4 separate regions of the Homo sapiens genome follow, and regions 2, 3 and 4 are each linked to region 1. The links are contacts of gene promoters, found by promoter capture Hi-C in blood cells and fetal thymus (Javierre and others, 2016). All regions are on one chromosome and are shown on one strand. Each heading gives the region's core, a stretch centred on a gene start or on the middle of the fragment in contact. The rest is flanking DNA. Distances are from core to core; before and after follow the strand shown. Region 1 holds the start of ZNF667 (zinc finger protein 667). Region 2 overlaps ZNF383 (zinc finger protein 383). Region 3 overlaps ZNF155 (zinc finger protein 155). Region 4 holds the start of LOC124904726 (a long non-coding RNA gene).

Evidence for each region. The method cuts DNA at HindIII sites, captures the fragments that hold promoters and counts their contacts. A CHiCAGO score of 5 or more calls a contact.
Region 2: a fragment that was not itself captured here is called in contact with the fragment with the promoter of ZNF667 in region 1 in 2 of 17 cell types (total B cells and naive B cells); the score reaches 14.7 in total B cells.
Region 3: a contact is called between a fragment that was not itself captured here and the fragment with the promoter of ZNF667 in region 1, in 1 of 17 cell types (total B cells). The highest score is 7.6, in total B cells.
Region 4: a contact is called between a fragment that was not itself captured here and the fragment with the promoter of ZNF667 in region 1, in 1 of 17 cell types (total B cells). The highest score is 5.6, in total B cells.

What each region holds. Positions count from the first base shown.
Region 1 is chr19:56,475,023-56,481,527 of GRCh38, reverse strand. ZNF667 (zinc finger protein 667) reads left to right here and starts at 4,183. Exons shown (of 7, transcript NM_001321356.2): 1 at 4,183-4,256. ZNF667-AS1 (ZNF667 antisense RNA 1) reads right to left here and starts at 3,654. Exons shown (of 2, transcript NR_036521.1): 1 at 3,147-3,654. The HindIII fragment of the contact is 7,484 bases long and covers 1,809-6,505 here.
Region 2 is chr19:37,220,623-37,227,127 of GRCh38, reverse strand. It overlaps ZNF383 (zinc finger protein 383), which reads right to left. Exons shown (of 6, transcript NM_001387601.1): 2 at 2,189-2,310. Among named protein-coding and RNA genes, the nearest start is that of ZNF383, 5.7 kb to the right of the region's middle. The HindIII fragment of the contact is 239 bases long and covers 3,930-4,168 here.
Region 3 is chr19:43,987,111-43,993,615 of GRCh38, reverse strand. ZNF155 (zinc finger protein 155) reads right to left here. Exons shown (of 5, transcript NM_198089.3): 2 at 5,058-5,157; 3 at 1,942-2,068; 4 at 1,682-1,774. The coding sequence starts at 5,072. Among named protein-coding and RNA genes, the nearest start is that of ZNF155, 6.2 kb to the right of the region's middle. The HindIII fragment of the contact is 3,880 bases long and covers 1,459-5,338 here.
Region 4 is chr19:44,230,641-44,237,145 of GRCh38, reverse strand. ZNF227 (zinc finger protein 227) reads right to left here. Exons shown (of 6, transcript NM_182490.3): 6 at 1-2,444. The coding sequence ends at 316. It overlaps LOC124904726 (a long non-coding RNA gene), which reads left to right and starts at 2,302. Exons shown (of 3, transcript XR_007067266.1): 1 at 2,302-2,391; 2 at 6,242-6,334. The HindIII fragment of the contact is 6,247 bases long and covers 1,116-6,505 here.

The DNA.
Region 1 (6,505 bases), core at 2,934-5,433:
GGAGAGAGAAGCATACATTTGTGACAGCATAAGGAGATTCATTTGCATGTAAGCATCTAGCACGAAAAGATATATGCTGTTTCCTTAACTCTTCAACACCATGCTCTCAAATCCTCTGAAAATATTTCTCCCACAAGAACTTTATTCTGTTGTCACAATTCAGGCCCTTGAAATCCCACAAATAAACTGTATACCTCCCCAGTGATATCCTGACTCAATTCTCTCTGCTTAATCCCTTCAAACAATACTCACAAATATGAGTTCTGCTATGGGCTATGATACAGAAGCTTGTACTAGACAAGTCTTCCTATCATAGCATATGGCAGATGCAACTATGTATGGTAGATCCAACTGTGTATGGTAGACACTGATAGCAATAACTTAAGCATACTCTGAAAATGACCCAGCATGGCAGACGCACCTGAATACATGTTCGGAGTTCCAAATATGACCAACATGGAGATTCATCTTTATCTATGATAAATGCCTGAGTCCCTGGCCTGTCCTGTGGAACGTGGGCCCTATAGGGGATTAAGGCTCTTTGTCTTGGGTTAAATGAGTCCCTGGCCTGTCCTGTGGAACGCTGGCCCTATGGGGGCTGAGGCTCTTTGTCTTGGGTTAAATGAGGGTTGCCATGTGGATGCTGTTAGGAGGAGAGTATTAAGTGAAAATGCTATACAAAGTCCATGCTTTCTGCAGGCGGTGGCAGTTCTCCTGTTCAGCCTACCACCACTGGACCACTCTGTATGTAAGTTCCATCTCACATATAACCTATGCCTCATTTCCTGGATCTGAGTCTCTTCTTCAGCCTCTTGAACCTGGTGCCATCCCTTTTGGAGCTGAAAGAGTTGCAGCATGACACAATAGCATACTACGAAATTAAACTATATCGGGGCAGTTTTGAGGCAGTGGACAAAAGATTCATGTGAGAGGGGAACCTGTTAACAAGCTGAGCCTCTTTATCTCCCCATTCTCTGTCTAGGGATAATTCCTCAACTACAGTGGACAGAGCTGGAATCTGAGCCAAGCGGAGCAGTCATGCTGAGTTCAGGAAGCCTCACTGCTAAATGCCACCTATCAAAGTGGCCTCCCCTGACCATCCTGTGTAAAATAATCCCTCCTTCCTCTCTAGACTTTCTAGCGTCTTTACCCTACTTTTTTTTTTTTTTTTTTTTTTTTTAACAAATTAAATCTTGGGCTGGGCGTGGTGGCTCACGCCTGTAATCCCAGCACTTTGGGAGGCTGAAGCGGGCAGATCACGAAGTCAGGAGAGTGAAACCATCATGGCTAACAAGGTGAAACCCCGTGTCTACTAAAAGTACAAAAAAATTAGCTGGGTGTGGTGATGGACACTCGCAGTCCCAGCTACTCGGGAGGCTGAGGCAGAAGAATGGCCTGAACCCAGGAGGCGGAGCTTGCAGTGAGCAGAGATCACGCCACTGCACTCCAGCCTGGGCGACAGAGCAAGACACTGTCTCAAAAAAAAAAAAAAAAGATTCCAGATACTCTGGAGCTGTCATAGGATCAGGTATTTAATTTATGCCTGTAATTCCCATGGGTTCCTGGGGCAGGGGGGGAAGTGGTGGGGAGTCCTGAGGTGAGAGTGAGGGAAGGTCTGACCAAATCCAAGACCAGGACTAGATTCTGGACCTGGGCTCTGGGACAAACTGTCTTAGAAAACTCATGGGTGTCTTGGGAGATAGTTGCTTTATTCGGAGAATGGGCACAACAGAGCCTGATCAGGAGCCAAGACATCCGACCCACACACTCTGGTTTCTCTGAACTAGGACAGTCTGAGGCATAAAGCTTTTTCCCAGATTTTCGCACTAACATGCCCCTAAAACAGCAGAAAGGATGACATACTTTCTTGGGAGGTGGTTTAAAGAAAACAAAGAAACTGCCAAGTGACAGATTTATCCTAAGATTTCTTGGATCTCTTGACCACACCCCTTATTCTAGTATTACCAGGTATTTAGAACAATCTCCAGTCTAGAAAGAAACTTGCTCCAAGGAACAACTCAGAGAACGGCTTACAGGATTAAAGAAAACCTTAAATGGAAAAATTCACTTTTGACCAGGGACAACAATCAGTAAGTGCTAGCTGCTAGTCACAGAGGTAATGGTAAAAGTCCTAATAGTAGTATCTGTTAGCTTTTATTTTTATTATTGCTACTACCTAATCACAGAAATGGGAAACCAAAACTAGTTCCTCACACATTCTCCCTACTACCTAGTCCCCAAAACTTGCTCAGAGTCACCTGGGAAGAAAGAAATCACAGGCCCTGGGTTCCCCTCACACATATACCCACCTATGCAACTACAAAAACTGGGTCTCAACACACAGGCGGGTACACACACACAGAGTCAAAAACACTGGCTTTCCTTGGCCGGTCGCGGTGGCTCACGCCTGTAATCCCAGCACTTTGGGAGGCCGAGGCGGGCGGATCACGAGGTCAAGAGCCCACATGGTGAAACCCCGAATCTACTAAAAATACAAAAAACTTAGCCGGGCGTGGTGGCGGGCGCCTGTAGTCCCAGCTACTAGGGAGGATGAGGCAGAAGAATGGCTTGAACCTGGAGGCGGAGGTTGCAGTGAGCCGAGATCGCGCCACTGCACTCCAGCCTGGGCGACAGAGCGAGACTCCGTCCCAAATCAATCAATCAATCAATCAATCACTGGCTTCCCACACACACACAACACTCATCCACAAAAACTGGCTACGGCTCGAAACCTTAGTCGGATAGTATTTTAGGCTTTATGGGCCACAAGATCTCTGCTGCAAGTACTGAACCCTGCCATTGTGCAAAAGCAGTCATAGAATAGACGTAAATATACACAAGTATACATATTCAAAATGTGTGGTTCCCCACAGAGACGTACACACCGCAAAAACTGGGCTCTAGAGTCAACAGTAAATAGTTCAGGCTTTGTGGGGCCACACAGTACCTGTTCCCACCTACTCAACTCTGCCCTTCCGCAGAAGTGGATGCAGAAGCTAAACAAATGTCCAGAACATACACACATATTCAAAATCAGTGCCCCCCGCCACGTACAAAACCACAAAAATCGCCTCAGAGACACACGTATAAGAAAACACAAAGGTTCGTCCTCACACATGTTCAGGGTAACACAATGTGGGTCTCACCTACACAAACGCGCGATCAAAACCCGGGACCCGCACGCCCAGATGACCGGGACGAGGCCATACTTCACATCTTCTCTCACAGACTCACAATTACGCAACGGTCACCTCAAACGACTTTATGGCGGACACTCCCGGACCTTCCGCTGTCCGCCCCTCCTCGTCCCTTCTCCCCGCCGGGGTGAGCCTCATCCACCCAGTCTCAACCCCGACGCAGTCAGTCTCACTGCCAGCCCGCCGGCTACGCAGGCGCAACACCGCATGGAACAGCCCCCAGGGCGTGCAGGGGCCGTTGGGAAATGTAGTCCGAGCGCCACGCAAAGGACTGTGGGCCTCTTCGCAAAACGTGCAGGTGAGTCCCCACTGTTGGCCAAAAGAAACATCCCTCCGCTGCTCTCCCGGGTCAGTTCATCTCCGACCCGGACAGAGCAGAACCAGCGCAGCCCAAGCCTTCTTCACCTCACGTTCTGGGTGGGACTTTCCACAGCCTCGCTGCACCCCGGTGGATTCTGGAGGTCGCAGGATGACTGCGTAGTGCGCACGCGCGGGTGGGCGGTGTCCGCCTCCGCGGGTGAGGCCGGCTCCAAACCTCGTGAATGTGGGGGCGAAGGACGCTGGCTGGCTGGAGGCAATAAGCCCTCACACGGGAACGTGTGGTTGTGGGAGCGGGGAAGGCGGCGAATTGGGGAGGTTGGGTTTGGTTAAAGAGCTCGAGGAAGGGCCTCAGTGTCCACACGTGATCTCCTGAGAGGATGAAAAGCAGGGCCAGGCGCCAGTCCCCTAGGAGACCGGTGTGCGTGCCAGCCTCGGGGGTGTGCGCAGGCGCGGGACCTCGCGCGTCCGCCTGCACCAATCGTGCGAACGCGCTTGTGCGTGTGGCGCTGAGGGGTCGGGGCCTCAGGCCGGGGCTGGTGGTACTGTCCCCGAGAGGCGGGTGAGCGCACGCCGCGTGGCCTTGTTTGGGGGCGGGGCCACGCGCCCGCATGCGTGGTGCGTGTGTGAAGGGGGGTGCAGCGCGCGGTCCCGGGGTCCCGGAGGGGAGTGCGCAGGCGCTGAGTCCCTGCTCGGCTGTCTCGGTGGTCGCCGCCGGGGTCTGAGCCCGGGAAGACCGAGGTAAGGGGGCTGGCGAGAGTGTGGGTGTGTCTGAGGGCGTGGGCGGCGCGCCCGCCACTGCGTGGACGTTCCTGCCAAGGCGCGCGTGGGTTTGCGCATCCACGATGGCGTGGGCGTCTGCGCGGGTGCTTGCGTGGGCGGTGGGCTCGCGCCTGCGTGGGTTCTCGGCCCGCCACGGCGTGGGGTTTGCGCCCTTCGCTGCTGTGGTTCTCGGGGCTTGTGCGCCCAAGTGTGAAGTTGGCGCCGCGTGTGAGGCGAGCCGTGTGTGCCTGTGTGTGAGGGAGCTATGTCGGGACCGCGGATGTGTATCGCTGCGTGACCCACGCGAAGGAAACAATGGAGCCATTGGGAAGCCGGGAGTGGGTGTGTGACGCTGACTGTGAAGATTTGTGTTTCTGGAGTGTGTGCGTGTGTCAGTGTCAGGCTGATGTGGGCGTTTATTGTAGCCTTGGGTTACTGTGTGACTTGCCTGGGCGTCTGTCTGCCACTTAGCGTCAGTGGCTTTGCGGTTATGAGTGTGTGACTGTGCCTTTCTGGTGTATATCTCACTGTAACCATGGAAATGGAGGCCCACAGGGGAAGAATTCTTAGCAGCTCTAAGATGTGATGGGCTGCCCTGGAAATCTGTGGAACTGTTTAATTGTGCATGACTTTCCTCCTTGGTAAAATAGCATATTAATAGCACCTGCCTGGGTGTTATTGGGAAGATTAAATGGGATGACGTAGCTGAAACACCCTGCACAGAGCTTGTCACATACTAATCACCGTGTTTAGGTGTTGGTTATGGTGCTGGTGGTCGTTTTTCTTTGACCCTATACAGAGGCAGAGGTAGTGGTGAATACTGGAGGACTTTGCATCTCTGAGCTTCGGACTGGGCTATCTTTGTCCACATACCAGGGCATCTGACCATCTCCAGTTGAGCAGTGGTGCGCTGCCCCCGCCAACCACCTGCGTCGTCAGTTTTCTGCATGTGTACATTTGAGTGGAGGACAGAGCCCTCCACTGACGCTAAGTATGGTTGTGTCCCCTTCCTACCAAGGTAGCTTGGAAAAATAAGAGCATGGACTGTGGCGCCCCGCTGTCTGGTGTTGACTCCTGGTTTCACCACTGGCTGGCTGTGTGACTGAGAGAGCTTACTTAAGTCCACCACTCCTCGGTTCACTTGTAAAACAGTAGTAATAACAGAACCAACCTCAGGTTTATGGTGAGCATAAGTAGAACTTGGCACAAGGAAGTGCCACATCAATGATCATCGTTTTATTATTAGCATAATAACCGCAGGCGTCCCACACCTGGAGAATAAAATCCATAGGTAGAAATGCAAAAGGATGAGCCCCAGAGTAAGGGTTGCAGGTCCAGAGGTAAAATAACTTGGACGTCTAGATCAGGGCTTAGGTTCAGAATTGTGTAGGCAGGGTCCTGGGAGGGCAGCATTAGGGTAGAGGAGGTGGGGTCAGGAACAAAGGATCTTCCTGATGGAGATGTCCCTAGGGAGCCCATGGGGTCAAGAACAGAACTTTGAAGTGTCAGGGACTAAGGGATGTTTCCATATAACACATGGGTCTGGAAATGTTTCTGTCCAGACCAGTGTTTCACAGCCTTGGCACTGTGACATTTGGGGCCAGATAGTTTTTTGTTGGGAGGTGGGAGGGGCTGCTATTCTATGTATTATAGGATGTTGTGCAGCAACCCTGGGCTCTATTTACCAGGCCAGTAGCACACCGCGCCTCCCTCTGGGTTGTGACAAGCGAAAAAAAAATGTCTCCAGACACTGTCAGATGTCCCCTGCAGGGGCAAAATCACTCTGATTGAGAGGACCGTGATGCAAGCGCATGGACAGACCGAAGGCATGATGACAGGGAGAAGAGTAAGGGAGCTGGGGAAGGCGGGGCACGGAGAGATGATAAAAGGATAGTGTTCTGAGATGAGAAGAAACGGCCTGCAGCCCGGGTAAGCTCCGAGATGCATTCATTCATTCAGCCAGTGAGTGCCTACCATGGATTGGGCACTGTGCTAGTCTCTCAACAAAACAGGCAAGGTTTTTACTCAGCTGGAACTTGCATTTAGTAGGAGAGACAAAAATAAAGTCTATAATAGGTGCTGATAGGTACTTTGAAAAGTAAAGCAGGGTAAAGGGATTACAGGGTGTTTGGCAGGTGTTCTTTTTGGAGTCAACATCCAGGTCTCCCATGGGCATTTTGGTCAACTCCAGAGCCAGGAAGGACCACCAGCAGTGACCCTTTGGTATC
Region 2 (6,505 bases), core at 2,800-5,299, about 19 Mb after region 1:
AAAAAAAAAAAAAAAAAGCCTGGCTGGGTGCAGTGGCTCATGCCTGTAATCCCAGCACTTTGGGAGGCCGAGGCGGGCAGATCACGAGGTCAACAGATCAAGACCATCCTGGCCAACATGGTGAAATTCTGTCTTTACTAAAAATACAAAAATTAGCTGGGCATGGTGACGCACGCCTGTAGTCGCAGCTACTTGGGAGGCTGAGGCAGGAGGACCAGGAGGCGGAGGTTGCAGTGAGCTGAGATCGTACCACTGCATTCTAGCCTGGCAACAGAGCAAGACTACATCTCAAAAAAAGAATAAATAAATAAATTTTAAAAATACGACTACCCCAGGTCAATATATCTTATAGTGAAACTGCAGATTTCACCATGCAAAAATTTAAAGCACACATCTTGTCCAATAAATGAACTTACAAAAATTAAAATCTATATTAAAAATAGAAACTTACATGTCTGTTGAAGTATAAAAAGGGACTCAGTCTCATGATCAACAGCTTAGGAAACTTAAATGCACATTGCTAAGTGAAAGAAGCCAATTCAAAAAGACTACATACTGTATGATTACAACATTCTGGAAAAGGCAAAACTATGGAGACAATAAAAAGATTAGGAGTTGACAGGGAGGGAGGATCAGTCAGGGCACAGAGGCCTTTTAGAGCAATGGAATTAATGTGGATGACATCATAATGGAGATAAATGTCATTACACATTTGTCCAAACCCCTGGATGTGTAACACCAGGAGTGAACCCTAATGTAAACTATAGACTCTGAGTGTCCATGTGGGTTCATTAGTTGTAATAAATGTACCACTCTGGTGGAGGATGTTGATGATGGGGGAGACCATACGTGTGGGGGAAAGACGTGTATGGGAAATCTCTGTACCTTCTGCTCAATTTTACTGTGAACCTAAAAGTACCCTAAAAAATAAAGCATATTAAAACAAATAAACAACTACAAAAAAGTAAGTCCTGTCACATGCTACATGTTTGAACCCTGAGGACATTATGCTAAGTCAGGGATTCAAGCAATGTATTTATAAATAACTGGTGGTTCAAAGAATAAATTGCAATGGAAGTTAAAAATATTTTACGAGGTCAGGAGATCGAGACCATCCTGGGCAACATGGTGAAACCCCGTCTCTACTAAAATACAAAAAAAAAAAAAAAAGTTAGTTAGACATGGTGGTGCGCGCCTGTAGTCCCAGCTACTTGGGAGGCTGAGACAGGGGAATCGCTTGAACCCAGGAGGCGGAGGTTGCAGTGACCTGAGATCGCACCATTGCACTCCAGCCTGGTGACAAGAGCGAGACTCCTTCTCAAAAAAAAAAAAAAAATTTAAACTGAATGATAATAAAAAGTAACATGTCAAACTAATTTATCAAAGCATTCAACTAATTCATTATTATATTGTATCCCGTTACTACTTGGGTTTGTGTGTGTCTACTGACTAACTGCAGTGAATCCCCTTTCTATCTTGGGGTATTGTGACTGGAAAGAAGCCAGTCACAAAAAGACAAATACTATTATAAATGATTCCACTTACAGAGGTATCTAAGGTAGTCAAACTCATAGAAACAGAAAGTAGAACAGTGGCTGCCAGGGGCTGGGGAAAGAGGGAAATGGGACATTGTAGCTTAATAGTTATAATTCAGTTTGCAAGATGAAAAAGTTCTAAAGATCTATTGTACAATATGAATATACTTAACACTGGAATGTACATTTAAAAATGATTAGCTTGGTGTGGTGGTTCACACCTGTAATCCCAGCACTTTGGGAGGCCAAGGCAGGTGGATCACCTGAGGTCGGGAGTTCGGGACCAGCCTGACCAACATGGAGAAACCCTGTCTCTACTAAAAATACAAAATTACCTGGGCTTGGTGGCACATGCCTGTATTCCCAGCTACTCGGGAGGCTGAGGCAGGAGATCACTTGAACCTGGGAGGCAGAGGTTGCAGTGAGCCAAGATCGCACCATTGCACTTCAGCCTGGGCAACAAGATCAAAACTCATCTCAAAAAAAAAATTATTAAGATGGCCAGGCGTAGTGGCTCATGCCTGTAATCCCACCACTTTGGGAGGCCAAGGCAGGTGATCACGAGGTCAAGAGTTCAAGACCAGCCTCACCAATATGGTGAAACCCCGTCTCTACTAAAAACACAAAAATTAGCCAGGCATGGTGGCACCCACCTGTAATCCCAGCTACTCAGGAGGCTGAGGCAAGAGAATCGCTTGAACCCGGAAAGCAGAGGCTGCAGTGAGCTGAGATCATGCCACTGCACTCCAGCTTGGGCAACAGAGTGAGACTCCGTCTAAAAAAAAAAAAACAAAGATTAAGATGGTAAATTTTACATTGTCTTTTATACCACAATTAAAATGAAAACAAAATCATTGAAAAAAAAAAAAAAGCTAGCTGGGCATGGTGGCACATTGTCTGTAGTCCCAGCTACCCGGGAGGCTGTGATGGGACAATCACCTGAGCCTGGAAGGTCGAGTTTGCAGTGAGCTGTGACTGCACCACTGCACTCCAGCCTGGGTGACAGAGTGAGAGGCCCGTCTCTCAAAAAAAGAAAAAAACAAAAAACCAGAAAAATCTACATGTTCAATGAAGTATAAAAAGGGACCCAGTATAATGATCAGTGGCTCAGATTCCAATGAGCTTATTTTGTGGAACCAAGTCCCAGGTACCAAACACTAATTAATTAATTGAGCCCTCAGCCTTTAAGTTAAGTCTGTGGTTGGTTTAATTTTCCTCTTATCAGATATTGGCAATTTTTGTGTTACTTCATATTTTAAGTTTTGTTAGAGATTTATTAATTTTATTAATTCCCAAAAATAAGCTTTTGCCTTTGTTAGTTTTCTTCACTGTACATTCATTTTGTATTTCAATATATGTTCGTTATGTACAGCAAAACACGTACACCTTAAATATATGCAATACCAAATAAACTAAAAATTTTATATTTGGGCTTTTATTCTTATTATTTCCTAGATTTTAATTTTGGGGGTTTAACTTTCTAGACTTTTCCTTAGCTTCTTGAGATGAATACATAGATCATTAATTTTTCAACATTAATTTTTTTCTTTTTTTTTTCTGAGATGGAGCCTCACTCTGCCGCCCAGGCTGGAGTGCAGTGGCGCGATCTTGGCTCACTGCAACCTCTGCCTCCCAGGTTCAAGCAACTCTCTGCCTCAGCCTCCTGAGTAGCTGAGATTACAGGTGCCCGCCACCATACCTGGCTACTTTTTTTTGTATTTTTAGTAGAGATGGGGTTTCACCATCTTGGCCAGGCTAGTCTTGAACTCCTGACCTCGTGATCCACCAGCCTGGGCCTCCCAAAGTGCTGGGATTACAGGTGTGAGCCACTGCGCCCGGCCAACATTCATTTTTTTCTAACATATGCATTTACAGCTATATATTTTCCTCATATTCAGCTTTAGAAACATAATTTTGGTATGTTATTTTTCATTATCACTCAGTTTAAAATATTTTAAATATCTATCACAATTTATTCTTTGAGTCACCAGTTATTTATAAATACATTGCTTAAATCCCAAACATTGGGATATTTCTTTAATTTTTGTTTTTTTAAATTTAGAAATGGGGTCTTGCTATATTGCCCAGGGTGGCCTAAAACTTCTGGGTTCAAGCAATCCTCCTGCCTCGGTTTCCTAAAGTGCTGGGATTACAGGCATGAGTCACCACACCTGGCTGGGATATTTCCAATTATCTTCTTGTTATTGACTTCTAGCTTAACCTACTGTGGTCAGGAAAGTTACAGTATTATTTCATTCCTTTGAAATTTATTGAGACTCCCTTTGTGGCCCAGCATATGATCAATTTGGATAAATGTCTCATATGCATTTGAAAAGCAAGTATATTATGTAGTTGTAAGGTACACTGTTCTATACATATCAATCAGGTCAAGCTTGTCAATCACACTGTTCAAATACCATATAGCTTTATTGGGTTTGTCACTTGTTCTGTCAGCTATTGAGAAGAGTGCTAAAAACTCCCCACTAAGATTGTGATTTATCTACTACTTCTTTTAGTTATGTCAAATATATTTGAAGCCATTTTATGAAGGCATATAAATTCAGAACTGTTATATCTTACTGGTGAATTGATCTTTTTATTATAAACTATTCCTCTTTATCTCTAGTAAAGCTTCTTGTTGTAAAATCTATTCTTGTCATAAAGTCTACACTGCAGTTTGGAATATAGATTGATACCACTATTTCAGAAAACTGTCAGTATCTATTAGAGCTGAACATATACAGAAACCATGACCCAGCAATTTCACTCCTAGAAATACACCCAAGACAAATGCATTCATATGTGCACCAAAAGACATGTAAAAGAATGTTCCCGGCAGCGTTTTTCATAACAGCCTCAATATGAAATCAAATGCCAATCAGTAATGGAATGGATAAGTAAAATGTGTTATATTCGGCCGGGCACGGTGGCTCACACCTGTAATCCCACCACTTTGGGAGGCCGAGGCGGGCGGATCACCTGAGGTCAGGAGTTTGAGACCAGCCTGGCTAACATGGTGAAACCCCGTTTGTATTAAAAATACAAAAAATTAGCTGGGTGTGGTGGCGTGCGCCTGTAATCTCAGCTACTTGAGAGGCTGAGGCAGGAGAATCGCTTGAACCCAGGAGGTGGAGGTTGTGGTGAGCAGAGATGGTGCCATTGTACTCCACCTTGGGCAACAAGAGCGAAACTGTCTCAAAAACAAAAAAAAGTGTTATATTCATACAACAGAATTTTAAACAGCAATAATAATGTGTTCACTATATTCATTATATCACCTATAACTAACGTGCAGCAACATGGATGAATTTTATATATTTATACTACATATTATTACAGAATACATTCATATTACATACGAAATACAATATTGAGCAAAAGAAGCCAAGCATCATCTCCAAGTGAAACTGACAGTAGGAAAAAAAAAGTGAAAAAAAAAGAAGCCAAGCAAAATTCAAGTATAGGTAAAATTAGTCTATGGCTATAGAAGACAAACTATTAGTTCTCTTTAGGAGAAGTGGGTAGTGAGTGAACTGGACAAGACTTGGGCTTCTGTAATGCCAGTTATGTTTTATTTCCTTATCAGATTTGAGATCTGGTCAAAGGAATATGCTTTTTCTTTTTTTTTTTTTTTTTTGAGACAGAGTCTCGCTCTGTCGGCCAGGCTGGAGTGCGGTGGCACAATCTTGGCTCATTGCAAGCTCCACCTCCCGGGTTCACACAATTCTCCCGCCTCAGCTTCCCAAGTAGCTGGGACTATAGGCGGCCGCCACCATGCCCGGCTAATTTTTTGTATTTTTTTTTTTTTTTTAAGTAGAGACGGGGTTTCACCGTAGCCAGATGGTCTTGATCTCCTGACCTCATGATCTGCCTGCCTTGGCCTCCCAAAGTGCTGGGATTACAGGCACGAGCCACCGCGCCCAGCCCGGAATATGCTCACTTTTATACAAGTCATCAGGTCATATACCTTGATTTTGTACTTTTCAGAATGTATGGTATATATATATATTTGAGACAGGGTCTTGCCCTGTTGCCCAGGATGGAAGGCAGTGGTGCAATCGCAGCTCACTGCAGCCTCAACCTCCCTAGGTTCAAACAATCCTCCCACCTTATCCCCTGAATACCTGGGACAATAGCAGCATGTAACCATGCCTGGTTAATTTTTGTACTTTTTGTAGAGATGGGGTTTCACCATCTTGCCCAGGCTTGTCTCAAACTCCTGGGCTCAAGCAATCTGCCCAGTAGGCCTCCCAAAGTGCTGGGATTACAGGCATGAGTCACCATGCCTGGCCCCAGAATGTATGTTATACTTTTAAAACAACATGATATATCATGGTATCAGCAGATTCATTAAAGATTAGAATACCAAATGACCATGTGTTAGAATACAAGATGACTATAATGTTTATAAGCTGTCGGTAGGAATTTAATTTATAAAACTATATTGTAGATCAGTTCAGCATTATCTAGGAAATTTAAAGATGCAAAACATACTGTATGGCCCAGCAATTCCTTCATACACTTATATCCTGGAAAGGTATGCATATATGCTGGTATACTTGTAAAAACATTTTCACAGCAGCCCTGTCATACAGGAAATAACCAACGTCTGAACTGCAGCTATGTATAGCAGCGAGAGTGAGGCTAACAAATATAGTATTTTATAAGAAAGGCAAGACTCAAAACAACATCATACAGTACAATTTAATTTATATAGTGTTAAAAAGGCAAAACTAAACTATATTGTTTAGGGATAAGCAGATATGTGGTAAAAAACAAAACAAAACAAAACTTTTTTTAAAAAGTCAAGAAGAAAATAACGATTATCAAAGTCAGGATAAGTGTTGCCTAAAGAGGGAGGTAGGATAAGTTTATTCTGGGGAAAGGACTAGCGGGCTTTTCTGGACTGCTGAAGCAAGTTTTTGTTATGCTGAGGGTCTCTTTATAATTACTTCTTAAACTATACATCT
Region 3 (6,505 bases), core at 2,149-4,648, about 12 Mb after region 1:
GTGGTGAAACCCCATCTCTACTAAAAATACAAAAATTAGCTGGGTGTGGTGGTGGGCACCTGTAATTCCAGCTACTTATGAGGGTGAGGCAGGAGAATCACTTGAACCTGGGAGGCGGAGGTCGCTGTGAGCCGAGATTGCACCATTGCACTCCAGGCTGGGTGACGAGCGAAACTGCATCTCAAAAATAAATTAAATTAATAAGAAATCTTTAAGGAGAAAGGAGAATCTTCAGGATGTTTCTAGTTTTAGAGGGCAGTTTCCCAATTCCTAACAGGTCATAAAGTTCACCAGTTCAAAATACAGCACTAAATCTATAAAAATCAAGAAAAAATTGTGTAAAATCTATATCCTTTAATGTTTTTGAAAACAAAACTTGTATGACATAAAGATGCAGAAATAGACACATTTATGAAGAAAGAGGACCAGAAATAGAGTAAATGTTCAGCTACATGACTTGTGTCCCCTCATCCTCATTCTTCCCCCTTCTAGTACGAAGGAGGAAGCTGGGGCCAGTGAAGTGTATATAGACTTTGGAAAAGGCAAATGGGCTGCAGATGGGTAAATCTTTCAAAGGAAATGTAGCTGGAAATCCTCATTCAAAAAGAATTTCTTCCCAGATATAAATATGCTCCCTATGGAAAGCTCCAGGATAAGTCTCAGGGAAGGCATCTTACTCAGTGTGGTCATAAAAACAATGCTTAGAAGTTTCCACGGGACGTGGGTCAATTGTACACACCTGAAACCAATCATGTCAAGGAACCTAAGAAAGTCAGAATTGGATAAGCAGCCATCAGCAGGCCAAAAAAACTGTTCTGCAATATACAGTCAGCCTTCCTATTATGTTACACAGCAAGGGGGATTAAAACGGCAGACGCCATAACGGTCACTAGTCACCTAAGCAGAAGGTAGGAAGATCATCCTGGTTTATGCAGGAGTGACCAATGCAATCACAAGGGACCTGAAAGGTAGAAGGCAGAGGCTTAGGAAGAGTGGCAGAGGGAATGGGATTATGGAAGAATGGTCAGAGATGCAAAGTAGCTGCCTTCGAAGATGGAGACGTGAAACAAGAGCCAGGGAGTGTGGACAGTGCCTAGACACTGGTAAACCAAAGTGAAGTTTTCCCTCCAAGAACATTCAGGCAGAAACAAAGCCCTAGGGACGCTTTGATTTTTGCCCAGTGAAATGTATCAAACTTCAGGCCTAAAGAACAGAGAGATAATAAATATTTTTGTTTAGTCCACTAAGTTTGTGGTCATTGGTTACCACAACAGGCAATACAGTGTCCTTGGCAGGACAGAAACAGCAGGGAAGAAATGTGGCTGGAAATGATGGAGAAAGATGGAAAGGACACACGTAGTCAGAGAGGCAGAATGGGATGAAGAGCAGACCACATAGGTCTCTAAGATGCACTTAAAGAGGTTGTAACATCAATAAAAATAAGAAGTTATAAAAGCTTTTGAGGAGAGGAATGACAATCTGACTTCCATTTCCTAAGGATCGCTTTGGCTGCCATGAGAACAGATATTAGGGTGGGAACAGGGCCACCAACTGGAAGGCAGTTGTAATAATCCAGGAAGGAGATGTGGTCATTTACATCAGAGCAATGCAAATGGGCATGGACAGAAGCACAACAGGTGGGAGAGTCAGGTACAAGGACACACAGATGCTTAGTTCTTACCTGAATTCCCTTCTCTTTGGGTTGCTGTCCCCATCATCCAAAACTTTTCTTCCCTTAGGAAGTGGCAAGTATCTTGGTGGAACGGTTGATGCCCTGTGAATAGGTAAGGTCACGTGCTGAATCCCAACACATTCTGGGTAATATTTAGGCAAAATTTACTGGCTATTTAGGTTCCCAATGCACACTCAAACTTGAACACTCTAAGGTACAAAACCACTCCTGAGGCCTGATGTTCAGACACAAAAGATGCCCGTGCTCACCCACTGAGAGCAGGTTCCTGAAGTTCTCCAGCATCACATCTCGGTACAGCTTCCTCTGGGCAGGGTCCAGCAGCCCCAGCTCCTCCTCAGTGAAGACCACAGCCACATCCTTGAAGGTCACTGCCTCCTACAACATCAAGAAGACATAACTTCAATCTTATGACCAAGGACTACTGGGGGAGAAGCGGCATTGAGCAGGGGAAGGGGATGAGTGGAAAGTTGTTCTCAGTATTGAGGGATGTAGGTCAACTTAGAGATTTCCCACTCATTCTGTCTATATCCTGACAATGACACATACTGATTTTCCTGAACTCCACCAGAAGTGCAATGATGAAGTCTCATACATTTATTCTGTGCACTCATTGAGTCTACTTGTATGTAACCCTCTAGGACTCTACATGCTGCATCCTGAGCTACCCATATATAGGTTCGACACATCTTGCCAACTGCCCCAGCAACATTAAACAATTCAGTCCCAACTTTGTTGGGTCCTCCTCTCTCGTACTCAAACCCTGGATGCTATTGCTTTTCTTTAGTATTTGCTAAACTAACAAGTTTTAGGTAACTGTGGGTAATTTTCAGGGTGGCCTTGAATCATTCTTTCTTGTGTATAGTTTTGAAGAATAAACATAGAACATGCTAGCAATGCAATGTTCCTGTCCTTCCTAGGGAAGATAATGTCTTGAGTTAGGGAGAAAGTGCCCAGTAAGTCGTATTGCCCCGGAGGTATATAACCTCGGGTGGGCTGCCTTCTGGGGTACCTCTGCTCTGGTGGAAATGGGGTCAAGATTCTACCCACCCCAGGACGTTTTCTTCAGCCTTGGATGGCCACCTCACAGTGTATCCTACACTCCTGTGCTCCCTTGCTGCCAATTTGTAGATAACAAATCTGCTTCACGTAATCTGTTGAGTGAGATCGTGTTCTGTCTCACAGGACTCACACAAGTTGGTAATCAGTGCACAGTGAACCTACTCCACAGTACCAGTGTGGACAGCTGAGTGGGACAGTTATGTAGTGTGTCCTCTACTCTCAAGGTACAAACCACAAATGTTAATTGCAGCCTTCAGTGTCCTGATCAGAAGCCAGAATGCATCACTGTACATCCTAAGGGTCTGCCCCTTCCTAACTGTGTGGCCTTAGACATGTTTGCCTACAGGATTTACTTTCCTCTCTAAATAATAGTCCTTATTTGGCACAGTATTTTAAAGGATTAAACAAGGAAATACATAGCATTTGGAAACATCTGTGCCACTGTTTAATGAACATTAGCTGGAATCTTTTTTACTGTTGTTACTAGCATTATCTATTTCATGGCTGCATAGTATTCCAGAGATCTGATGACCTACTTTTAGCTACAGTAAAGAATATTTAATTTTACATATTTTCCATTATCAATCCTGTAAAGAGCATCATTAAGTAATGATGTAGCAAGATGTAAGAACATCTTACTCTCTCATTGTTTAAAATAATAATTTCAAATGAAAATTAAAACATCAAAAAATAAGCACATTTAGAACTGTGATCATATAACTGCATGCTTTCTTCCCAGTTTTTTACCTACCTCCATAATCTTTGAACAGAATACAAGTACTTTGCTTCTCTTTATCATGACCAAGAGCAGGTTATAAGTATTCCCACAGTCTTGGTAATCTGATTTGGGGAACAAATCATTCTATTATTCTCACTTATTTGATTACAAATGAAAACCATCACTTTTCAAGGTTATTGGCCATCTCTACTTCTCCTTTTACATTGGCCTTTTAGTGTCCTTTGTTCCTATCTGTTTGGAGTTTTTCCTTTATTCTGTGCTCAAGGTTTTGATTTTGAATTTTATTTTCTTTAGGTATCCACGTGGCTAACATTTCTGCCCCAGGTCATTATTTCTTCTGGTAACATTGTGTGAGGCATCTTTTGCCAAAAGGGATTTAAAGATTTTCTATAACAACTATGGTAATCAGTATACTTCAGTGCCTGGAGTAGATGCCATGTCATAGTGACATGTGACAAGAAGTCACACCAAGTAGGGACAGGGAGGAGCAGCACCACTAGGGACACCATCACTCCACAGGGCACTCCAGACATCCACATCACAGGGCACAGGTTGCTCAATGGAGAATTCTGTCTCTCTCCTTGTTTCTCTTTTTCACCTGAGCCGAATGGCTAACACTCCTGACCTTTGGTTGCCTGTGTACACCTGAGAAGGTTTCTCATATTTCACCTGTTCAAGAAGAAGAAGAGACCAGGAACCTCATTCCGCTGCGCTGAGGAGTAAATGTAGTAACAGAACACAAGTGATTGGCAAAACTTAGTATCACTGGACATTTTAAATGAAGGCTTTCTACTGCTTTGGTTAAACTGCTTACTACATAAATGAATAAGAAGAGACCAGTAAATAAAGCACATGCAAAGTATGACTGAGACAAGGAGAACACAGAATCTAGCTCTTCCAGTGTGAAAACTCCAACAATATTTGTGTGGTGCAGCAGTTACATCCTTTTGTTCTGTGCCTAGTTAAAATATTCTATCTGCAAAACAGCCAATGTGGTACATATCAAAAGTACCCTTTCAAAATTGAGCTAAAATGGCATATGGTTTTCAAAATTAATTTTGTGGGAAAAGGTTATGTATAGGAAAGCTGTCACTGCAGTGTTGCTTAAAATATGTCTATGAGCGTGAGGTAGTTATAAATAAAAAGATACATCAATGTAATAGGAATATGATGTAACCATAAAAATGGAAGATTATATAACATATAAAAAGAGCACAGTTTACAATTAGATGTATATCATCAATACAAATACAGTTACAAATGTACATGACGAACAGCAGAGAAGATAAAAACAGATAATTTGAGAGAGGGGAGGTAAGGAAGTGGGAGCACTGTTCATTTCTACTAATTTTCATACTCCATAAAATAAATAATGGTAACAAAACAAAACAAAGCAAAACCAAAAACCAAATGCAGTCAACACAAAAGAGATAAAGGAAGCACCTGGCACAAACAGGTCCCCAAATGCCTGTTTTCCCCTTGAGTCTTCTCATGACAGAGAAAAACACATGAAAATATGAGTAGTGACATGGAATTTTAACAGCGAGAGAGGCACGCCCCCCTCACCTTGAATGTGGTCATTTTTCCTCCTACTTTGGGGAATTTGCAGACTCCTGGGTGATGCAGTTTGAATGAAGGAGGAATCCTGCCTGAAACGTGCCACAGTCTGCAGAAAAAGAGAGATGTGTGTTGTGAATTAGCCCATGAATGATCACAGCAGCATTATTCATAATAAACCCAAACTGCACACAACCAAGATGCCTTCCTCTGGGTAAATGGATAGGCAAATGGTGGTGTATCCATACCATGGAATCTTATTTGGAAATTTAAAGGATGTTTCCAAAGCTTGGAAACATCATGCTAAATGAAAGAAGCCAATCACAAAACCCATGGATTATACGATCCCATTTATATGAACCATCCAGAATAGATAATGGTATATAGAGAGAATATAAGTTAGTGGTTGCTCCAGATTTGAGGTGAGAATGAGTTTTTATTTTTTAAGAGATGGGGTCTTGCTATGTTGTCCAAGCTGGTCTCAAACTCCTGAGCTCAAGCTATACCTCCCACCTTGGCCTCCCAAAGTGCTGAGATTACAGGCATGAGCCACTGTGCCCGGCCTGAAAATGAGTTTTAACTGTAAGTGGGCACAAGAAGTCCAGTTAGGGGATGAAAATGGTCTAAACTGAATCATGATGATGGCAAAACCACTATGTGAAATTCCTGAAGATCACTGAATTGTACACCTGAAATTGGTGAATGCTATGATACGTAAAAAATACCTCAATAGAATTGGGAAAAATAATTGTTAGTTTACATGTCATTTAACTTAACAAGACTGAGTCCATACTGATAGAATATTTATAGTTGAAGAAACTAATAAATAAATGGGGGAGAACTGGCAGTTCATTTTTAGAGTGAATGCCCATTAATAATGTATCTCCCCAGAAGAAACTTGACTATTTCTTTTAAAAAGGTAATTTGATAGTGGACAAATCTGAAAGACATCATCTTGGCCAAATGAATGAAGTTGAGATCACCAATGAAGGGCCAAACCAACATCGTTTGGCCCTGTTATGTTACAATAGGAAGGAAACCTTATCACTTTGGCAGTATCCGCACCAACAATGCATAAGGCCCAGAAGCAATAACAATGCATGATCTGAACCTAAACATGAGATATATCAGATAAATCCCAATGAACGTCTTTCTCCAAAATAACTTGCCTACACTCTTTAAAAATACCACATATATTAAAGAAAAAGGCTGTGAAATCCTTCCAGATTAAAGAAGACAGAAATGTGACGAGTAAACACAATGCATATAATTAGACTTTAAACTGGGGTCAGGGTAAAGGGTAGGGTAGAAGATAGTTGTGAGGACTATAAATGAAAAAATTGAACAAATTTAATTATGGAACCACATATGAGATAACATGATGTTATGGAATATGCTATCTAGCACTATCTAATTATAACACTATAAGCACAATTAGTAGTTTTTTAAACAGATAT
Region 4 (6,505 bases), core at 2,990-5,489, about 12 Mb after region 1:
GCCAAAAAACCAGTTAGCATATGGCAAATATCCTTCCACACATTATCTTCAGGCATATATTCACAATGAAAGGTGATCATTTATATTAACTAGATCTTACCAAGAGAGCCACCAGCCCTATTTCTCCCCTAAATACGAGTTCTATTCCTGTTCATGGTTCTGTGTTATCATCTTGATGGATTTGTTAGAAAGATTCCAAGTGTGAACAAACCCCCTTCCACTCTCAGTAGTTTTACAGGGTTTACCACCAGCATGGACTAGCCAAAAACTTGAAGATGTGCATTCAGACAAAAGTTGGTAACACATTTCTCATTTCTAAAGCTTTTTACCAGTATGGACTTTCTGATGATATGTAAGACGTGAACGGTGACGGAAGTCCTTATCACATATGTCACATTTGTATGGTTTTTCTCCAGTGTGGACTCTCTGATGGGCTTCAAGACGTGCACTCTGACTGAAGCCTTTACCACACTCTTCACATTTAAAGAGTTTTTCCCTGGTGTGAACACCCAGGTGGACTCGAAGATTTGAGGGGAGACTGAAGGCCTTACCACACTCCTCACATATATGGGGTTTCTCTCCCGTGTGGACCCTCTGATGATGGCGAAGATTCAAGCTCCTACCAAAGCCTTTCCCACACTCTTCACATTTGTAAGGTTTTTCTCCAGTGTGGCCTCTCTGATGGTATATAAACTGCGAACTGTATCTAAAGCCCTTTCCACACACATCACATTTGTATGGCTTTTCCCCCGTGTGGACTCTCTGATGGGATTGAAGACCAGAGGACTGACTGAAGCCCTTACCACAGACACCACATTTGTATGGCTTCTCTCCAGTATGGACTCTCTGATGTACCCGAAAATCTATGGCCTGACTGAAGCTCTTATCACACTGCTCACATTTATAGGGTTTTTCTCCTGAGTGAACTCTTTGATGTGCATGAAGATTTGATCTCCAACTGAAGCCCTTCCCACATTCCTCACATTTATATGGTTTTTCTCCAGTGTGAATTACTTGGTGTAGTTTAAGATTTGAACTATAACTGAAGTCCTTACCACACACATCACATCTATATGGTTTCTCTCCAGTGTGGACTCGCTGATGGGTTTGAAGCTTTGAGGACTGACTGAAGCCCTTCCCACACGTTTCACACTTGAATCGTTTCTCCCCAGTGTGGACATTCTGATGGACTTGAAGATTTGAAGCCTGACTGAAGCCCTTACCACACTCCTTACATTTATAGGGTTTCTCTCCCGTGTGAACTCTGAAATGAATATGCAGATCTGTATTACGGGTAAAGCCTTTCCCACACGCCTCACACTTGTATGGCTTCTCTCCTGTGTGGACTCTCCGATGGCATATTAATGGTGAATTGTGGCTGAAGCCCTTACCACACACATCACACTTGTAGGGTTTCTCTCCAGTGTGGACTCTCTGATGGATGTGAAAATGTGCAGCCTGAGTGAAGCCCTTACCACATTCCTCACATTTATAGGGCTTCTCACCCCTGTGGACCCTCTGGTGAACACGGAGATTAACACTCCAACCGAAGCCCTTACCACACTCTTCGCATTTGTATGGTTTTTCTTCAGTGTGGACTCTCTGATGGCACTGAAAATTTGAACTTTGACTAAAGCATTTACCACATTCCTCGCATTTATAGGGTTTCTCTCCAGTATGAGTTCTGTAATGAATGATAAGACCCGTGCTGCTACTGAATCCCTTGCCGCAACTGTCGCATCTATAAGACTTCTCTCCTGTATGATTAGATTGATAAGAATGAAAAGAGCTCTTATTGAAGCAATCACCAGATTCATGACATCTATTGAGTTTCTCTCCTGGGTGAATTCTCTGATGAGTTCGCAGATGTGAGCTTTGACTGAAGCATTTTTCTCCTGTATGAACATTCGGATGAAGGGGAAGCCTTGGGCTATAACTGAAGCCCCTTCCACACTCACCACATGGATGGGGTTTCTCTCCTAAGGGTAATTTCTGATTGGAGCCATCACTAATGATTTTGCCATATTCATTACCTTTGCAGGGTTTTGGTTCTGTGTCAGTTTTAATATGCTCATGAAATGGTGATTTCTTCATGAAGTCTTCATGTATTTGCAGGTTATTTTTCACATCAATTTGCTTACCTCTACTCTGAATCTGTGACTCACTCAGATATGTATTCCCGCAAGAATGCTGGGTTCTCCAAAATGGAAACTCTTGATTTTCAATATAAATAGAGCTATCTCCTTTAGGGTTCATTATATTGTTCTCATTTTCAGAAACCTGAATAGAGTCACCTTGTAATAACTGGGAACTCTTCCCCTGAAGACACCTGGTTAATTCACTTGCAACCTGTTTCCAGATTTGCCAGCAGGACAGCTCTTGATTTGAAAGGTATTTTAATGCAAATTTTTGGAGTGTTTCCATCTTATTTTGATGCTTGCTGCCTATTAAAAAAGAAAAAAGGCAATATTTAGAGATGAGGGCAGTAAATGCTTTCTTCAGAAATATCAGAATTTCACACTTAGGCCATGGGAGAAAGCCTTGATAAACCAGGCGAAAGGTGACCTTGTCCTTACAGCATCGTGTATTCTTTTGACATGTTTTTCATACAGGTGTAAACGAAGAGTGGGGTCAACAGGCTCCCATTCACTAAGTATAAACATGATCCATGTAGAACCGTAAGTCTAACAGTTTAATATGAGAGCTAAAAGCTAAAATCAGGTAGCTGCAGGGCAACAAAAAGAAAATCCATATTCCAACCTACAATAACATCAATGAACAGCCTACTCACCTCTTCCTCAGTAGGCTTATGACAAGCGGGATTCTAATAACTAGTTAGGTTAAGAAAAGTTCAGACTGTAGGCATGAAATACTATTTTAGATCCTGATAGAAATTATTCTCCAACAGATTTGGGAAGGCAGTTGGAATAATATGATTGTTCTAAAACCTGGTAGAAATCCAGGTCTCTGGACAAGTGGAAAAGGGAAAGCTAATCTTGTATAACTAGGAGAGAACTTCGGAGAGGAAATAGAGCATAGTGCAAACTCTCAAAGCCAACACAGAAGACGAAGAGAGGGAGAGGTATGTTCAGCTTGGAAACTTCCTCCCAGAAAGCAGGGAGCCTTGCTTGTTCTCTCGCTCCCTTCAGGTCTCTGCTCACATGTTACATGTTACTTTATCTGTGATGCCTTCCATAACACACGATGTAAAAATAAATCAACGGTACCACCATACGCCATTTTTTTTTTAAAAAACAGCGTCTCGCTCTGTCGCCCAGGCTGGAGTGCAGTGGTGTGATTTCAGCTCACTGCAACCTCCACCTCCTGGGTTCAAGAGATTCTCCTCCTCAGCCTCCCGGGTAGCGGGGATTACTGGCGCATGCCACTACACTCAGCCAATTTTTGTATTTTTAGTAGAGATGGGGTTTTGCCATGTTGGCCAGGCTGGTCTCGAACTCCCGACCTCAAGTAATCTGCCCACCTCGGCCTCCCAGAGTGCTGGGATTACAGGCTGAACCACCACGCCCGGCCTGCCATACACCTTCGACTCTTTCCAGTTCAATTACCCTGCTTGACTTTTCCCCACAGTACTTATTATTTGATTTACTATATACTTTCCTTTGTCTCTTTAGACCCAGTAGAATGTAACGGTCATGAAAAAAACACGCATTTTGTTTTCTTCATTGCTTTATCCCCACTGTTAACAAGGGTTTTCAAATTGTTGCAATGCATTAGTGCACCATGAAACCAAGTATGTAACTTGTGACTGACAAAAAAACAAAAAACAGAATAAGACATGCTTAGTGTATTAAAAGCAATAAGAGTACTACTATAGGAAATACTTGTTTTAGTTGGTAAATATACACATAAATATAAACATATTTATGCTTAGTCAAGATGTAAAATTATACTTATGTTGAGGGTCATGGTTAGAAACGTATGAAAGACCTTGGCTTAAAATGTTTAGGGGGTGGTTTACCAAGTCCTAATCAAATAATTTGCCTAAATGAAATGTTACATTCTAATAATACAAACTGAAAAAAAAATAGCAACAGGTGTCTACACATTTCTGGATATGGCAGGCTGAGTAATGACACCCCACCCCCAAGAGATGTCCACAGCCTGAACTCTCAAACCTGTGAATAGTTAATGTACATGGCAAAAAGGAATTTACAGGCCAGGCACAGTGGCTCACACCTGTAATCCCAGCACTTTGTGAGGCCGAGGCAGGTGGATCACTTGAGGTCAGGAGTTCGAGACCAGCCTGGCCCACAACATGGTGAAACCCCGTCTCCGCTAAAAAACTAAAAAAACAATTAGCCTGGCATGGTGGCAGGCACCTGTAAGCTACTAGGGAAGCTGAGATATGAGAATCGCTTGATCCCAGAAGGCAGAGGTTGCAGTGAGCCAAGATTGCACCACTGCACTTTAGCCTGGACGACGGAGCATGACTCCGTCTACAAAAAAAAAAAACAAAAAAACAAGCAATTTATAGATATGATTAAATGAAAGCTCTTAAGGAGATTATCCTAGATTATCCAATGAGCCTAAAGTAATCACAAGTCCTTACAAAAGGGAAGAAAGAGGGAAGCCACCCAGATTTCACCCTATATATCTCTCCCTTTTGCTGCTTCCAACATGTATCTTTTTTGCTATAATAAAACTGTAAGTCCAGCACCTTCCCGAGTTCTGTCAGTCATTCTAACAAATTATCACGGGAACTCCCAAATTTGTAGCTACTTGGTCAGAGGTGAGCAAAATTATCTGGGAATCCCTAAACTTAGAGCGATATATAAACTTAGAGCGATATAGAGAGCAGTCTTGTGGAAAACTATGCCCTTACTCTGAAAGTCCGGCCTAACTTCAGGTGTTTGGTGTCAGAAGTCACTGCAACATGTAAAGTGCTTCTCACATTGCTGGTGCTAGAAGCTAAGATTAATACATGTGGATGCAAATTACACTGGAAACCCAATTTAGAAATTCTGGAATTTTCTTTGCCTAATCAGGACTCACCTCAACTCCACAGGTATGTCAGTGCCTCTGGACTTCTGGAAATGTCCAATTCAAAACTGCTAAAGAACTACTGTATGTAGGTTATATAACTGTTTTGGTATTAGAGGGAAGGGGAAATGGGAAAGTGGGAAGTCAGCTGTATGGATAAGGCAGTTTTCACCAATGAGTAAAGCCAACTTGAAATTGATACAGGGAAACTGATGAACTATAATACCTGCCATATTGCCACTGATAATTTTTGATAGTGAAGTTCTACATTCCAACAACTGTGAATAGCTTTTATCTTCTAAGGTTAGTAGGTTTGAATATTTACATGTCCAAAAATGTCTTAGAAATTACTAATTATGTTAGACATTCACTAGAAGACAGTGTTCCCAAATAATTAATCACACTGGTGTGCTCTCAATCTATGAGCTAACTCTGAGTAAAAGGGATGTGATATCTACTTGTCTCCATTCTCTGTAAGTTTTTTGTTAAGAATTCTTATAAAAACAAACCCTTTGGCTGAGCATGGTGGTTCATGCCTGTAATCCCAGCATTTTGGGAGGCTGAGACAGGTGGACCACGATCTCAGGAGTTCGAGACCAGCCTGGCCAACATGGTGAAACCCCATCTCTACTAAAAATACAAAAATTAGCCGGGTGTGGTGGCAGGCGCCTGTAATCCCAGCTACTCGGGAGGCTAAAGCAGAATTGCTTGAACCCAGGAGGCGAAGGTTGCAGTGAGCCAAGATCATGCCACTGCACTCCAGCCTGGGTGACACTTTTGGGAGGCCAAAGTGGGTAAGATCAGAACTTCAATACCAGCCTGGCCAACATGGTGAAACCCCATCTCTATTAAAAATACAAAAATTAGTTGGGCATGGTGGTGGTCACCTGTAATCCCAGTAACTTCGGAGGCTGAGGCAGGACAATCACTTGAACCCGGGAGGCAGAGGTTGCAGTGAGCCAAGATGGCACCACTGCTTTCCAGCCTAGGTGACAGAGCAAGCAAGACTCGGTCTCAAAAAAAAAAAAAATTCACATCATCTAGGAATATCTAATTTTTACTTTTAATTTTGTGTGTGTGGGAGACAAGGTCTCACTATGTTGTCCAGGTTGGTCTCAAATTCCTGGGCTCACTTGATGCTCCTCCCAAGTAGCTGGGACTACAGATGTATGCTAACATGCCTGGCTAAGATATATATATATATATATATATATATATTTTTTTTTTTTTTTTTTTGTAGAGATGGAGTCTCACTATGTTGCCCAGGTTGGTCTGGAACTCTTCAGCTCAAGTGATCCTCTCACTTCAGCCTCCCATGTAGCCAGGATTACAGGTATGTACCACCATACCCAGCTTACTTTTAATTTTTAAGTCAATAGACCTGAGGAATATGCAAATTCAAGAGAAAGCAAAGAAGGAGAGAAAGGAAAGGTAAGGGGATGGAAAATGGAAGGAAGATGGTATTTTAAATTAAAATGGTAAATTTAAACATAGAAGGCCTCTC